Linked DNA regions of Homo sapiens: region 2 is linked to region 1. The links are contacts of gene promoters, found by promoter capture Hi-C in blood cells and fetal thymus (Javierre and others, 2016). All regions are on one chromosome and are shown on one strand. The core of a region is centred on a gene start or on the middle of the fragment in contact, and the rest is flanking DNA. Distances in the headings are between cores, read along the strand shown.

Region 1 (5,519 bases), core at 1,718-4,217:
CCTGTACATCCTTTTGCTTTCCCTAGAGTTAATGTCAAAAGAAAACTGGAGTGCTATAATATCACACAAGTAGATTTCAGAGCAAAGAATATTATAATGATAAAGGTTATTTGATAATGAAAAGTCAATTAAGAAGACATTACAATCTTAAACCTAATAACAGAGCTTCAAAATACATGAAGCTAAAACTGATAGAACTTCAAGTCTATAGACATAAAATATTTACCTAGGACTGGGGGATTTGGAGGAAAATAGGAGTGACTAATAGGTATATGGTTTCTTTGTTGGGTATTAAAAATAATCTAAAATTGGCCAGGTGCAGTGGCTCACACCTGTGATCCCAGCACTTTGGGAGGCTGAGGCGGGTGGATCACCTGAGGTCAGGCGTTTGAGACCACCCTGGCCAACATGGAGAAACCCTGTCTCTACTAAAAATACAAAAATTAGCTGGGTGTTGTGGCGGGCGCCTGTAATCCCAGCTATTTAGGAGGCTGAGGCAGGAGAATCGCTTGAACCCAGGAGGCTTGAACCCAGGAGCTTGCAGTGAGCTGAGATGCACCATAGCTCTCCAGCCTGGGAAACAGAGCAAGGCTCTGTCTCAAAAAACAAAAACAAAACTAAAATTGATTGTGGTGAGGGTAGTACAACTATGACTATACTAAACATACAACTTGACTATACTAAACCCCACTGAATTGCACACTTTAAATGAATGAATTGTATGATATGTGAATTATCGCTCAATAAAACTTTTTAAAAATATTTTTAAAAATATTATACTAGATAGAAATCTGAATCTATACAAAGACATGGAAACACCAGAAATGATAAATATGTGGGTAAACGTATTTTTCCTATTCAAAAAAATCTTTTTAAAAACCAAGTTACTTTTTATAGCAAAAATAATTTATTGTGCATTTATGACATAGTGACAATAGCACAAAACTAGGAGATAAAATGGAAGTATACTTTTCTAAGCTTCTTATACTATACACAAAGTGGTAGATTCTTACTTTAAGGCAGATTGTGATAAGTTTAAGACATATATTAGAAACCCTAAAGCAACAGCTTATATAACAAGCAAAGAAGTATGGTCAATAAACCAACAAAGGAGGCTGAAGCATGAAAATCATAAGCTGAATCACAGTTGGGAAAAATAGAAAACAAATAGCAATCATACTTTTTTTTTTTTTTTTTGAGATGGGGTCTGGCTATGTTGTGCATGCTGGCCTCAACCTCCCAAAGTGTTGGGACTACAGGCCTGAGCCACCCCACCCAGCCTGCAATCATAGTCACTTTAATGAAAATGTTTTAAGCATCCAAATTAAATGGAAGAGACTGTCAGACTGGATAAAAAAGCAAGACCCAACTATTTTCTGTCAACAAGTGATCCAATTTGAATGTAAATACACAAATAGATTAAAATGGGTTGAAAAAGATACACTATGCTAGCATTAATCAAAAGAAAGCTAGTTATATTGATAGCAGACCAAGCAGACAAAGAAGAATAAAGGAATAAAGAGGGCCACTTCTTAATGCTATAGAGGTTAGTAGAGGTTAATGCAAGAGAACGTAACAATCCTAAATGTTTACATACCTAATTTCAAAATACACGACACAAACTGATAGAATTGAAAGGAGAAGCAAATTCGCAATTATAGTTGGAGATTTCAACATCCTTATCTCAGTAATTGATCTCTTTGGCTGCTCTGAGACTAGCTGGGAATGAACCAAGAGTGAATGAGTGCACAGATGTGGGCAGAGTTTTCAAAAAGGTATCATATATGGGCCAGGCACGGTGGCTCACGCCTGTAATCCCAGCACTTTGGGAGGCTGAGGCGGGTGGGTCACATGAGGTCAGGAGTTTGAGACCAGCCTGGCCAACATGGTGAAACCCCGCCTCTACTAAAAAAATACAAAAATTAGCCAGGCATGGTGGCGGACGCCTGTAATCTCAGCTACTCAGGAGGCTGAGGCAGGAGAATCGCCTGAACCTGGGAGGCGGAGGTTGCAGTGAGCCAAGATTATGCCACTGCACTCCAGCCTGGGCGACAAGAGCGAGACTACGTCTCAAAAAAAAAAAAAAAAAAAAAAAAGTATCATATATGATCCTGATTCCTATACCCAATGGCCCGTGAACAGTATTATTAATAATTTTGGTCCTTGGGCCGGGCGCGGTGGCTCATGCCTGTAATCCCAGCAATTTGGGAGGCCGAGTCGGGCGGATCACCCGAGGTCGGGAGTTCGAGACCAGCCTGACCAACATGGAGAAACCCCGTCTCTACTAAAAATACAAACTTAGCCGGGCGTGGTGGCACATGCCTGTAATCCCAGCTACTCGGGAGGCTGAGGCAGGAGAATCGCTTGAACCCGGGAGGCGGAGGTTGAGGTAACCGAGTTCGCGCCTTTGCACTCTAGCCTGGGCAACAAGAGCGAAACTCCGTCTCAAAAAAAAAATTTTTTTTTTAATAATAATTTTGGTCCTATGTAAGGTATTATTAATACACAGATTTTCATTTTTCGCCTAATTATCCTGAACCAGTTAAAGTGAACACTTGGAAGGGGGTAGGGGGAATATCGATAGCCATGGCAGTGGTTTTCAAACTTTATCAGAATTACCCGCTGGTTAAAATTCAGATAACTCGCTTCACTCCAAAGTTTCTGATTCTGCAGGTTTGGGGTAGGGCCCGAGAATTTGTCATTTTAACAGTATCTCCGGTGTTGCTGATGCCGCTGGTCCCAGAACCACACACTGCGAACAACTGGCCTAGAACGTTGTCATTCCTTTCTCCTACAGATTTTGAGGCAGCCGGTGGGCTCCGAAACAAAACAGAGGTCACTGGATCCGATTCCCAGTACCATAGAAGTGACTCAAACCAGCGATTCAACCGACAAGCAGGATCCGGGCCACCCAAAGCCGCGCGAGAGTTTACGTGACGACATCGGCGTCAGCGTCACGGAGGCGTCGGCCACGTTCAGCGGACACGGGAGCAAGATGGCGATTCCGGGCAGGCAGTGAGTGATCCGGGAGTTAGGGTCAGGCTGGGGGATGAGAAACTACGGCGACTGTATCTTTGGCCGAGGAGTTTTAAATGCGCTGGAAGTGAAGGGACTGTGTCGTCAAGGGTAGAGACGGGAAAAAACGAGAAGTCCTGAGGAACATAGATTCCCCTCCCCCGTACATTTTCCCGGATGGAAGCCCGAAGTTTGAGGGAGAAACTTGTGAGGAAATAAAGGAAGTTAGGCTGAGGGGCAGAGAGCGAGACTTTTCTATTTTCCAAAAGCTCGGTCTGAGGCCCCTCAGTCTTGCTTCCTAACCCGCGCTTGAGTTTCTCCCCGCTTGGATGCTCTCAGGGGCAGTGTGAAGAGAGACAGTTCCTGGCTTCCTTAGAGGGCCTTGTTCTCCTTGGCAGAAGCTCAAGTCCTGATTCCCGCCCTTCCTTCTCGTTTTAGGAATATTGTTCTGAGAAGCCACAGAAAAAGGGTAGGCATATAGGAAATTGGGGTATACGTTGCCGCAAAAGAGACAAATACTGTACGTACTTGAAAGTTTTACCTTTGATGTGTAATCCTTACTTTTGATGCGGCCTCCCGTGATCTCCGCATCTTAAAGGCCAAAACGTGAGAAACTAAAGGAGTTGGATCTGATGGGATGGTTCTCTCAGATGCTCCGAGGCAAAGCACATGATCTTAATAAAGTGTAATGCGAACTTGCCCCATGGCTACTTGGGTTTCTCAGTTATCTTTTAAAAATTTTCGTGAGTTACACTATCCAGTCAGTTCTTAGAAACTGTGTAAGTACACAGTAGGAAAAAAAATCTAGCCATTTTCTTGACTGTTTAGACCACAAGGATAGTTGAAAGCATTTTAAAATCTTTAGTGGACATGAACTAAACTTTCCACTACACATGTTTTTTTTTTTTTTTTTTAAATGTTACTGTCACTTCGCCATCTTAAAACATTTCTGAACTTTTCATTTACTTCTCTTCTTTGATAAAAATGGTATTCGAGTTTGGCCCGTGTCCACAAATGATCACTTAGAGTAGTAATTATAGAATCTTACGGCATGTTAGAATTTTGAGATCACTGAGAAGCAAAAACAGTCTGTTACGTGTTCATAAAGCTTATGACATGTTTTGATTTGGTAGCTTCATGTGGAAGAGGTAGTAGATGTATTTGTTAACATTTAAACATAAAGGTTTAATTTCTATTTCAAAAAAAATATATGCAGGTATGGGCTTATTTTGCCAAAGAAAACACAGCAGTTGCACCCTGTTTTGCAAAAACCATCAGTGTTTGGGAATGATTCTGATGATGATGATGAGGTAAGGAAACCTATGTTTTACTCGTGCATGGTTGGAAATGTAAATTTTTTAAAAATTGAACTTGTGACTCTGATACCTTTGCCTTTGTTATTTGTCAGTACAGTGGAGTATAATTTACAGAATTGTCAAAAAGGAAGGTGTAAAGAAAGCAGCTCCACCGATTTTTTAAAGATTTTTTTCCCTCTAAAAGCTGCAAACTTTACCTTTAAACAAATACACGGTCTTTTCAGACTACTGAAATTGTCATAACAAAATTGTTGGTGTAAAGATCCCTAGGTATGAGTTATTAAGATGTCACCAATTTTCTACAAATTTTTATTAGCAAAGCAGTTTTTAATTTGTTAACCATGAGCTAAGATCACTATATAACAGTTCTTAACAACGCTACTTTTTTTTTAAATTCAGTGTCTGCCAAATGTAATTGCTCAGTTATAATCGTGGTAGTGAATAGTTACTCTTGATAGTACTACAGTAACATCTAATATCAACATTTTCTATTTTAGCAGCCAAAACTACTTCTGTGAAACCCACAGTTATATATCAGAAACAATCCCAAATGTGTGCTTTTCTTTTCTCTTTTTTTTTTTTTTTTTGAAACAGTGTCTTGCTCAGTTGCCCAGGCTGGAGTGCAATGCCGCGATCTCGGCTCACTGCAACCTCCGCCTCCTGGGTTCAAGCGATTCTCTTGCCTAATCTTCCTGAGTAGCTGGGATTACAGGCACCTGCCATCATGACCAGCTAATTTTTGTATTTTTGTAGAGACAGGGTCTCACCATGTTGGCCGGGCTAGTCTTGAACTCCTGACCTCAGGTGATCTGCCTGCCTCAGCTTCCCAAAGTGCTGGGATTACAGGCGTAAGCCACCGCACCCAGTAAATATGTGCTTTTCCAATACTCCCATCATGTTTTAATATTTTTTTTTCTTTTTTTTTTTGAGACAGAGTTTCGCTCTTGTTACCTAGGCTAGAGTGGGATGGTGCAGTCTTGGCTCACTGCAACCCCTGCCTCCCAGGTTCAAGTGATTCTCCTGCTTCAATCTCCTGAGTAGCTGGGGTTACAGGTGCCTGCCACCATGCCTGGCTAATTTTTATTTTTTTATTTTTTTGTATTTTTAGTATTTTTAATATTTTTTGTATTTAGTAGATTTTCCTGCCTCAGCCTCCTGAGTAGCTGGGATTACAGGTGCCCCACCACC
Region 2 (5,534 bases), core at 608-3,107, 260 kb after region 1:
GAAGAGACTAAGCGAGAAGCGGAGCACACGCAGAAGACGAAACAAGGAGGAGGAGAAGAGAAGAAGAACCTTGGCGAAGGAAGAGAGTGACCAAACTCGTCCCGGACGGGAGGAGGGCAGGCCCGCCCAGAGGGAATCGGCTGCTTTAAGGGAAGCCCCGCCCCCTGGTGGTGACGCTCCACCAGGCCCGTCCGCGATTGGCTGCGGCCAGAGGGCGGGATGGGGTTGCTAGGCGAGGAGGGGATCCGGCGGGCCCCCGCCGCCCGGAGCGCTGAGCCGCGGGAGCGGAGCCGGGGTTAGCGGCGCTGCTGGAAGATGGCGAGCGGCCGGGACGAGCGGCCGCCTTGGCGGCTAGGGCGGCTCCTGTTGCTCATGTGCCTGCTGCTGCTGGGGAGCTCGGCCCGGGCGGCTCACATCAAGAAGGCGGAGGCGACTACCACAACTACGAGCGCGGGCGCCGAGGCGGCCGAGGGCCAGTTCGACCGCTACTACCACGAAGAGGAGTTGGAGTCGGCGCTGAGGGAGGCGGCGGCCGCGGGCCTCCCCGGCCTGGCCCGCCTCTTTAGCATCGGCCGCTCGGTGGAAGGCCGGCCGCTGTGGGTGCTTCGCCTCACCGCCGGCCTGGGGTCGCTAATCCCTGAGGGCGACGCGGGGCCTGACGCTGCCGGGCCCGACGCTGCGGGGCCGCTGCTGCCCGGCCGGCCCCAGGTGAAGCTGGTGGGCAACATGCATGGCGACGAGACCGTGTCGCGCCAGGTGTTGATCTACTTGGCCCGCGAGCTGGCGGCCGGCTACCGCCGCGGGGACCCGCGCCTGGTCCGCCTGCTCAACACCACCGACGTGTACCTGCTGCCCAGCCTCAACCCCGATGGCTTCGAGCGTGCCCGCGAGGGCGACTGTGGCTTCGGCGACGGCGGCCCGTCCGGGGCCAGCGGCCGCGACAATAGTCGCGGCCGCGACCTCAACCGAAGCTTTCCCGACCAGTTTAGCACCGGCGAACCCCCCGCCCTGGACGAGGTGCCCGAGGTGCGCGCCCTCATCGAGTGGATCCGCAGGAACAAGTGAGTGTTGCCTGCCCCCTCCCCGTCCGTGTGAGCCTCCAAGGGCCGAGGCTGGTTCCGGCACCCAGTAGGCGCTCAGACAATGCTGGCATAAGGGGTGGCGGTGGTGAAGGTGAAGGGAGACACCCTGTAACGGGGACAGGGCCCAGGCCGCGTAGCCTCCCGTCCTGCTAATCATCAAAGAATTGCCTCCTAGAGGCTGTCATTTGTTCAAGGGATGGCTGGAGGGGACACTCCTTTCTGACATTTCTGGTCCCTATTCTTACAGGGGCATAGAATATGAGCGAGAAGAGATCTTAAGGATAACCTAGGTCAGCTCACACATTTTATAGATAAGCTGTCAATGTTGTTATCTTATATCAAAAGTGCCTAATGTTATAGGCGCTGTGCTAATTTTTTCTGTGACTGCAGTATCTCACTTTATTTTGGCCACAACCTGATGTCATAGACACCATCAGTTTTGCATACGGGGAAATTGAGGGTCAGATTGGTTAACTGATTTACATAGGAGTGTGGCTGGGACTTAGAATTAGGCAATCTGATTCCCGATAGTCCTCTTAGCCACGGAGGGACACTGGAGCCCAAAAATGGCAGATGATATTCCCAGGATCTTCCCCTTGCCTATTTGACAGAAGCTGATTTTTCTCCAATTTTTACCTCTGACTCAGCTTAAGAAGATATGGACTTAGCTGGAGAACTTGCACAGATCTGTGAGCCGCTTCATTTTAGACTCTGAAGGGTTTGTGATGTCATTTGTGCACCTTATTAGCCTGGGCAGAATGGCTAATGGTCACACTTCTAATACACACTTTAAGTGTTATTAAGCATTGCATGAGGTTTAAAAAATTACAAAGTAGAAGAAGGAGGACCTCAAGAAATTAGTATAAAACAAGAGAATGTTATAAATATTTATGAGGTATGTTGGTGTACCCAGTTAAACTTTACAGGAATTGTTCCCACTGGCAAGATGTGTGTGGGCTGCAATAACACGGACCATCTCTGTGGAAGAGGTAGAGCTTGAGCTATCTCCAGAGATGGGCAGGATTTTCAGCAAAAAGGAGAGGAATAAAATAAGAGGGAACTCACTCCAGATGGCATAGTGTCTGAAGTGAGCAGGCATCTCTTCCCCTTTTCTAGCATCAGCTTTTCCCCATTTTTGTATCTTCATAAGGCTTTTGAAGCAATAACTGATCATTCCATCTGGATTAAAAGAAGATTTCTGAGGGACTGCTAAGATAAAGAAGTTTCCCTGCGGGACTTGGAATCATTTCTTCTACAAGATTTCAGTCATATATAGAAGATCTAGAAAATTCTTGAGTGTTAGGACAGTTCCTGAGTCTTTTCGTCTTCTATCTTTTACTTTACTCCTCTTGATAAGCTCTCTTGTAGATATATAATTTCACATAGACTTTCTGGGAGGATTTTTTTTTCTTTTAAATACGATCGTGTCATCACCTCTGAACATCTGCGTAAGAAATATGACTTTGACATACACTTATTGACAGAGCTGTGATGGCCAGGGCTTTTTGGAGATGATACAACAAATGCACCGTTTGCATTGCTTAAATGTTTAAAATGCTCTGTCCTTGCACCTTTAAAATGCTGTGATCCTTGCAGGGATGTAAATTCTGTGCCTGGATTTTTCTTTTCAGTATTAGTTGTGCTGTGACCAAATATGAAAATAAGCTTTTTCTTGGTGCAAGTCGCCTTGAGGCTATACAGAGTCATTTTGGTCTGTGGCTGTGGACTACCCTAATCATATCTGTTCTTCAAATATGTAACTCTCATTAATCAAAAGGGAAAGTAGGTGATCATATATGGTAAAGAGTACATCCATCCTAACTCAGTCTTCAAGAATTCACTCAAAATGCGTACTCTGTGCTATTAACCAATAACAAAGGACACTGATATGTGAATAAAATTAAAAACACAAGCACACACACAATTTGATATTGATGCCTAAATATAGTGTCAACTTTATGGATGGGATATTTTTAAATACTCAAACATTAGTCTGTATGGGAAAACTACCTTTTTCAGTGTATTTTGTGAGGTAAACCATTTGAGTAATTTCTTGATATCCTATTCACCCAGCTATATTCGAATTAGATTTTTGTTGTTATTTCGAATATGTAAAATTTTAAGGCTTAATTTCCTCCAGCTTGGGAAAATGAAGTTTATTTTCTTTGTTTCACTTTATACTTCATCCAATGGATGTTGAGACAAATACTTAAGAAAATATATAAAAAAATTAACTTTATCATTCAAATGAAGATTTTATAGTTGACTCCTATTTTTTTATAGTTGACCGCTATGCTTCTTTAAGTGAATATACCTGCTTAAATTTTCATAGGTAATTAGCATATAAATGATATTTGAATGTGTTTGTGAAAAGCATTATTACAGTGTTGAGAGTGGGTGCAGATGATTTTTTTGGGGGCTTATGTATACATATCTATGATTGTCTGAATCTTTGAAATTTAGTTTGTCAGATATCAAGTTATCTTAATTTTTTTCAAGTTATCTACAGGGTTACCTGGATAGCGTAATAGAGTTAATTTAGAGATTAACTGTTTAATATTTATAAACTCATTTGTAATATCTCTAATATATTTACCAGCTACTTTAAATCTTATGCAAGGAATGATATGTGATACTGAAGTCAAGTATGAGAAACATTTCAGAGAATTGATTTGAATGGAAACCATAAAGTACCTGTCAAATAAGATTGGAGTTGATTTGCAAAGTTGATTTGACAAAAACTCAAAGCATAATCTTACAGCCATTGTAGTCACTTTCTCTTGAAATCTTCATTGTAAGAATGACACTGGTACTTTCAAAACTGTGTAATTACAGTAAGGAAAATCGAAGTGAATTTTATTACTCAAGTAGATTGCAAATATTTCATTGTTCAAAAGTATTTGATTAGGCCATTTTGACAATATTTCTGAGAAGTGTTGGAAGAAATGTTGAACAAAATGAGAAACAGCATTTTGTAGAGAATCTTGGATTTTAAAGTTTTACTTAACATGTGTAATTAAAGTAGCATGCTTTACTTATTTAGAATATTTAATTATCCATTTTATTTTACTAGAATATGAATGCCCAGAGGGTATTTGTTTGTTTGTTTCGCTCACAGATGTATCTATCCCTGGAATGTCCTTTGGGATGTATCTGTCCCTGAAACGTCATTTGGCAAATAGTTGACACTCAAGAAATGTTTGTTGCCGAATGGATTACCTGACCTGCCCCAGCCTTCTTATAACTTTCCCAGAGTCAGTGGGGGAAAAATACTTAAAAATTGTTTTAGAATTACAAACCAGAGAGTAAATTGTTAATACCTTAGCTATAGGGGAGAGGTGGTTAGAGTGGAGTTAGAAAGTTAGAATATTTACTTAGTTTTTGTTTCTGTATCATTCTATTACCCAAGGACTGGCAGTGGAAGTGGGGAGTAGAATGATAGTTTGTAAGGCAGTGTTTCCTTAAACAGGATGCTAGATACCTCCAAAGAAATGAACATTTGTTGAGCAGGGGCTATAAAGTAGTCTTTATGCCAGATTATGTTTCATGTGTGTTATCTTAATTTTCATGACAACTCTGGGAAATGGGTAGCATTAATCCCCATTTTACAAATGAAAGGAAAACTGAGGTTCAGCGAATTTAAAGGCAGTAACTTCTCCTGATTATGTTATATTACTGGTGAGCAACAGATCTGGGAGACGGAATGTTCTTACCCAAATTTGTCTCCAAAGCCTGTGCCATTGCCACTACACCAAATGGCATTCTTCTCTGGTGTCTGGAAGGGTGCTAATTATAATTATATTAGTTTTTAGCTAGTTTCTTTTCATGGTCTATGCTAGTGTTTAATCAGTGTCCTTATTGGCAAAGATCTGTCTTCTGATGAACAGATTTTGTGTTACAAGTAATTTTCATTGTTTGATCTTCTCTGGGATAATACTACTCATCATGCTTAAAATAGTCTTTCAAATTAGACATGATAGGTTTACTTTTTTTTCAAGCATATAGAAAAATCTTATATATCAACCCCCTTTAGAATTTCTGTAGGTCAGTTAATTTCAACAACAGAAAGGCAGAAGCAAGAAAATCCTATTTAGAATGGAAAAAGAAAAGTATTTAATCTCTACTGATAGTAATGGTTTAAGCTGTTATATAAGGGAAAGATGCTTAAATAGGACTTTAGCATTTTTTTTGCCTTTAGGTTTTAGCTTTTACCATAAAAGGAATTCTTCAGTATTTCTATATAGATAAGTTTGACCAAATTGTAAATTGGTTCACTTAAAAGTAGAAGCATTAAAAAAAATGTTTCTTTTACAGGAGCAGCCTTGCCTCCATGTCAATTTATTTTTTTAATGGCCCAATCAGAAACATTGGGCCTTGAAAGAGCTGCTTCTACAGTGATGTATTGGAGGACTAGTCTTTGACATGGTGTATTGTTTTTCTCTGTAAGCAGCT

Evidence for each region. Contacts are between HindIII fragments. The CHiCAGO score rates a contact against its expected background, and 5 or more counts as called.
Region 2: a fragment that was not itself captured here is called in contact with the fragment with the promoter of NSRP1 in region 1 in 4 of 17 cell types (naive CD4 T cells, activated CD4 T cells, non-activated CD4 T cells and 1 more); the score reaches 8.7 in naive CD4 T cells.

The regions. Positions count from the first base shown.
Region 1 is chr17:30,113,849-30,119,367 of GRCh38, forward strand. NSRP1 (nuclear speckle splicing regulatory protein 1) reads left to right here and starts at 2,968. Exons shown (of 7, transcript NM_032141.4): 1 at 2,968-3,015; 2 at 4,232-4,325. The coding sequence starts at 2,996. It overlaps MIR423 (microRNA 423), which reads left to right and starts at 3,231; the gene lies at 3,231-3,324. It overlaps MIR3184 (microRNA 3184), which reads right to left and starts at 3,312; the gene lies at 3,238-3,312. RefSeq lists enhancers at 2,479-3,678, 2,711-2,830, 2,851-2,950, 2,981-3,080 and silencers at 2,793-3,394, 3,331-3,400. The HindIII fragment of the contact is 3,145 bases long and covers 977-4,121 here.
Region 2 is chr17:30,378,666-30,384,199 of GRCh38, forward strand. It overlaps CPD (carboxypeptidase D), which reads left to right and starts at 262. Exons shown (of 21, transcript NM_001304.5): 1 at 262-1,061. The coding sequence starts at 316. RefSeq lists enhancers at 1-17, 163-1,090 and silencers at 68-307, 608-737. The HindIII fragment of the contact is 1,776 bases long and covers 970-2,745 here.